2 separate regions of the Homo sapiens genome follow, and region 2 is linked to region 1. Evidence: promoter capture Hi-C in human tissues and cell types (Jung and others, 2019). All regions are on one chromosome and are shown on one strand. Each heading gives the region's core, a stretch centred on a gene start or on the middle of the fragment in contact. The rest is flanking DNA. Distances are from core to core; before and after follow the strand shown.

Evidence for each region. Contacts are between HindIII fragments. The study calls those that stand out against the background at their distance.
Region 2: a contact is called between a fragment that was not itself captured here and the fragment with the promoter of SMAD2 in region 1, in 1 of the 25 tissues and cell types used here (hippocampus).

Annotation. Positions count from the first base shown.
Region 1 is chr18:47,929,380-47,932,151 of GRCh38, forward strand. It overlaps SMAD2 (SMAD family member 2), which reads right to left and starts at 1,280. Exons shown (of 11, transcript NM_005901.6): 1 at 982-1,280. RefSeq lists silencers at 709-1,238, 1,269-2,198. The HindIII fragment of the contact is 9,095 bases long and covers 1-2,772 here.
Region 2 is chr18:49,428,218-49,430,917 of GRCh38, forward strand. DYM (dymeclin) reads right to left here. Exons shown (of 18, transcript NM_001353214.3): 2 at 2,038-2,230. The coding sequence starts at 2,177. Among named protein-coding and RNA genes, the nearest start is that of DYM, 31 kb to the right of the region's middle. The HindIII fragment of the contact is 7,598 bases long and covers 1-2,700 here.

The DNA.
Region 1 (2,772 bases), core at 30-2,529:
AGAGAAAAAGAATTTTGGAAATTAAATCACATTTCAAAGACCATTTCTAAAAAGATGTAATTATTCCAAGTTATTTATTTATTAACAATTATTTTACACATGTCGTTTTAAAAGTTTCACAAACCCAAATTTAAGATAGTCCAAATTGCAACAAACAAGACATGACTTTGATGGAAAATGCTGCTTGCAAATTCGTTTTACCTGGAAATTTCTTTTTTAAAGGTATGGTTGACAACACACTGGTGGTATTTTGCTTTTAAAGGGTCAAGAGAAAGGAATAACAAAACCAACCCAGGCATTCTTTTTCTGTTTAGGATCAAAAGGACATTTTAAGGATAAGTAAAAGACAAAAGTACCTGACCCAAAGACAATATCCCCCTCCAAGAGAACAAAGTAAGTTGCAATTTTAAAAACCAAGTTTGAAATACGAGAAATCACTTCGAGGGCTTTCCAAAGGCGTGTGATAAAAACTAATAGGCTCCACCCGCAGAACAACTTTCACAAGTGAGTGAAGGATGATCACAGAGTTATCAGCTGTGTGCGTGTTTGTGAGTACACACAAGCCATGGAAAACCCGAGACTACCACTGTTAACAAAGGTTACGAGACCAAAAAAAAAAAGTGGAGGCAAAGTATTACGCGTCCCTAACAAGGCTTCCCCACAACTCCTGAAACAAGAGCTCTGGCCCTTCGGCTTTAAAAATCAGAACCACAAACTATGGAGTGTGAGAGCAGCGAGGGGAAGGGACGCAGGCAGCCCCCGCCCCCGTCAGCCTGGGCGGCAGCGCAGTGCAACCGAGCCCCGTCCCTTCCCGGCTCTCCGGCCCCGAACCCGCACGCCCGGGCCGGCGCACCCACAGCCCCCGAACTCACCACACCCCAGCCCCCACCCGCAGCGGCCATGTGACACGGCCCATCGCCCCGGCCGCGGACGCACGCAAACACTTCCCTAGCTGGAGGCCCGCGGGCGCCCAGGCTTTACCTGCAAGGTGGCGCCAGGTCCCGCCCCGTCAGATCCGGGGGGTCCGGGACCTTTTGTTCCTTCCTCTTCCGATGGGATGGAGGGGGCTGGGAGGGGAAGAGGGGAATGGGCGATTGGAGGCGGAACTGAAAACACTCCCGGCCGCCGTCTTCCCGCCCCGCCCCCAGGCCCGGGCCCGGCCGGCGGCCCGGGCGCGCGGGAGGGTAGGGGAAGAGAGGGGAGGGGAGGGGAGGAGAGGGAAGGGGAGGGGAGGGAGCCTGGCCGCCGCCCGCGGGGAAGGAGGGGGTGAGGACGCGCGCGCCCGCGCTGCCCCTCCTCCCCTCAGGCGCGCGCCCGCAGCCCTACCGGCCGCCCGCACGGCCGCGCCCTCCCCCGCCAGCCCACCTCCGCTTCCGCCCTCCGCCCTCGGCCGCCGGCCGCCGCGGCGCCACGCACCCACCTCCCGGCGGCTGGCGGGCTGCTGGCTGGCGAGCTGCTTCTCCGCCGCCGCGGCCGCGCGGGTAGACCCGCCTGCCACCCTGGGCCGCGGGCCCCGCCGATTCGCCGGCGCAGCCCCGGGGCTGGCACCCTGCCGCCCGCTGATTGGCGCCTCCAGCCGCCCGTTAGGGCGCGAGGCACGCCGGCCGAAAGCCGCGCGGGGCGGGTATGGAAGACGGAGGGAGCGGAGGAGGAAAGGAACGAGGCCGAGCACCGCGGGAAGGGCCGGGGGGCGAGCGGGGCGCGGGGAGTCGCCGGCCACCGCCTCCCCACCTCCCTTTGCCTACGGCCCGCCCCGCCTCCCGGCCGGACCGGCGGCGCCCGCAGCCAATCAGCACGAGGGAAGCTCGGGGTGTGAGCCGCGCATCGGGGGCCTCGAATCGGAAGGGAGACGTCGCTCGCTGATTGGTCCCGCCTCCCCAGTCTAGCGTGAGGCGAGGCGGGGCGCGGCCGGGCGGGGCGGGACGCCCGCGGTTTCGCTTGAGTTGGGCGCCGGCGCGCTCCCACCGGGGCTCACGGGCGGAGAGGGAGAGGCCCGCGCCTTGCCGCGCATTAAGACGATTCCCGGTGACCGCCCGATCCCTCGCCAGCGTCGTGGGTGGGGCCTGTAGGGGCCTGCCGCCTCGTCCACCGTCCGTCGTGAGGCCGGCAGCGGACACGTGCTCATCCCACGGGGAGGCCCCGCGCAGCGCGGAGGACGCGCCTGAGAGAGAAAAGGGGTTCGGGAGAAGCCCGAGGACCCGGCCCGTGACTGGGCGCGCCCTATGCAAATGAGCGGGCGGGGCCCTCGTGTTGCTGAACGAGGGCGGGTTCGCGATGTAAATAAGCCCAGAGGTGGGGTCTTTGGAGAGCACTTAGGGCCCGGGTAGGGGATGCCAGGTATAAGTGTTTAACCTAAATTTTGGTTCCGTCTTCAGTAAAAATGATATCAATAATCCATGTCCCGAAGGGTCTTTGTGAAGTCTAAAAGAAACATCTGTCACGATGTCCCTTAATGGCTGGGATATCTTCCCTTCCCCTTTTCTCCACTGTTGCGACGATTAGGCCCCAACTTGCACATCTGCCCTACAGGAGGCAGCAAGGCCCTAAACTTACGGCTGCCCAGAACATAACTGCACCCAGGGAAAACCTTGTTGCGGTTACCCTTAGGAACACCCAAGCCTCTGCTGACAAAATATTGAGCCCAACTAATCACATCAGGTGTTTACTATGCACCCACTGTGACACAGGCAGGGAGTACCGTAGAACTAAAGTTGAAAAGAAACTTAGGTTTCACACAGGTGCCAGAGACAAGACTAGAACACAGTTTTTTTT
Region 2 (2,700 bases), core at 29-2,528, 1.5 Mb after region 1:
GGTGCTGAGGATTTCTTGAGCCCAGGAGTTCAAGACCAGCCTGGGTAACAGAGCAAGACCCCATCTCTAAAAAGGTAGAAGAAAAAAAAAGAAAGAAGCCAGTCACAAAAGACCACCTATTGTTACAATTTCATTTACATGAAACGTCTAGAAGAGGCAAAGTTAGTAGTAGTTATTAAATTAGTGGCTGGACGCAGTGTCTCACGCCTGTAATCCCAGCACTTTGGGAGGCTGAGGAAGGTGAATCACTTGAGGTCAGGGGTTCGAGACCAGCCTGGCCAACATGGTGACATCTCATCTCCACAAAAAATACAAAAATTAGCCATGCATGAAGGCATGCAACCGTTAAGCCCAGTTACTCGGGAGGCTGAGGCCGAAGAATTGCTTGAATCCAGGAGGCAGAGTTTGCAGTGAGCAGAGATCGCGCCACTGAACTCTAGCAGACTGAGACTCCCTCTCAAAAAATAAATAAATAAATAAGTGGTTGCTAGTGCAATCTAGAGTTTGGGGGAGTGTCTGCTAATGGGCATGGGATAGGGCATGGGATGGTTCCTTTCTGGGATGATAATGTTCTAAAATTGGTGATTGTTACACAATTCTGTGAATAAAAACACTGAATAATACACTTTAAATGGGTGAATTACATGATATATGAAACATATCTCAAAAAGTGTATTATTTTTCTATTGCTACTACAAAAGTTATCAAAATTTAGTGGTGTGAACAACATAAATTTATTATCTTACAGTTCTGTAGGTCAGAAGTCTGACACTCAATGAGCTAAGATCAGGATGTCAATAAGGCTGCATCCCTTTCCAAAGGCTCTAGAGGGAAATCTGCATCCTTGCCTCTGCCAGCTTCTAGAAGCTGCTCATATTTCTTGCTCATGACCTCCCTACCATCTTCAAAGCCAGCAAGGGCAGGCTGAGTCCTCCTCACATCACATCTGACTTTCTCTTCTACCTCCCTCTTCCACTTTCAAGAAGCCTTGTGATTACTTTGGGCCTGCCCAGATAATCCAAGATAATCTCCCTGTTTTAAGGTCAGCTGATTAGTAACCTTAATGCCTTTTGCTACTTTAATTCCCCTTTGCCATGTAATGTAACATATTCAGATTCTGCAGACAAGGACATGGACATCTTTGGGGGGCTACTATTCTGCCTATCATAATAAAGCTCTTAAAAAGTAAATAAAAAATTTTTAAATCTAGTTATTGAGTGTATGGGAATTCAATATTCTATTCATTCTTCATTATTATTGTCTGACAGTTTTTGTAATAGAATTAAATATGAGATATTATTTTTCACCTCTGAAACTGGCAGAGGTCAAAGGTCTAAAATGCATCAAACTGACAAAGATATGGGGAAACACACCTCTCATGCATTGCTGGTAGGTATGCAAATTGCTACAACTTCCATGGTGCACAATTTGGCATAGCTACCAAATTGCAAATGCACATACACTTTGACCCAGCAATTCTACTTCAAGGAATTTATACTAAAGATATATTGTGTGTATGAAAAATGATGTATGCGGCAGTAACTGTTACAACAAAGACTGGAAACAATCTAAATGTTCATCAACAGAAAAACCAATTAAATATATTCTACAGATACTCCACAGCCATTAAAAAGAATAAGGAAGTTGCAAATGTGCTACATATACAAGATATATTTTACTTAACTGTGGAAAAAAAGGCAAGGGACAGAACAGTACGTGTAGTATGCTACCATTTGTATTTAAACAATTTTGTGAAACTATATGGGATATATGCTTAAGTAACCTATATTATCTCTAGAACGATTCAAAATAAACTGCTACCAGTGATAACCTCTAGAGAAGGGAGGTGGCTACTGAGTTGGGTAAAAAGAAAAGCTTATTTTCTACTTTCAAATCTTTTGGATTTTCTACTGATCTATGTATGACAGATAGACTAGATAGATAGACAGAACATTTCTAAATTTTTTTTTAATCAGCATACCACACAAGTTGATATGGCCCTCTATTCAAATTTTCAATCTCCAGGCAATCTCTTACCTGCTAGTTGGTGCAGGGAAAGAAAATGAGAGAAGCTGATTCCAGAACGGGTCATTCTCAGAGATAGATTCCGTGCCTGATAACTTTTTCAAGTACTCATTTTTAGGAAGATCGCCGATTCTGCTGCTATTCGATCCCATCTTCTAGCTTAAGCAGATAATTTGTCCTTAAACCTGCATTTCCAAAAGACAACCTATAAAAAATAAAAATAAAAACTTTAAACTTGTTCAAAAGTCATCATGCTTTGTCTACCTATAAAAAAACTATAAACTTACTAAAGAAAATCACACATTTCTGTATTTATAAATATATTAGACATCAGATACAAAGTTACAAGAAATATGGGGCTAGGCCAGGCATGGTGACTCACGCCTGTAATCCCAACACTTTGGGAGGCTGAGGCGGGCAGATCATGAGGTCAAGAGATTGAGACCATCCTGGCCAACACGGTGAAACCCCGTCTCTACTAAAAATACAAAACTTAGCTGGGCGTGGTGGCACGCACCCGTAGTCCCAGCTACTCAAGAGGCTGAGGCAAGAGAATCACATGAACCCAGGAGGCAGAAGTTGCAGTGGGCCAAGATCGCGCCACTGCACTCCAGCCTGGCGACAGAGCAAGACTCCATCTCAAAAAAAAAAAAAAAAGAAATATGGAGCTAACAC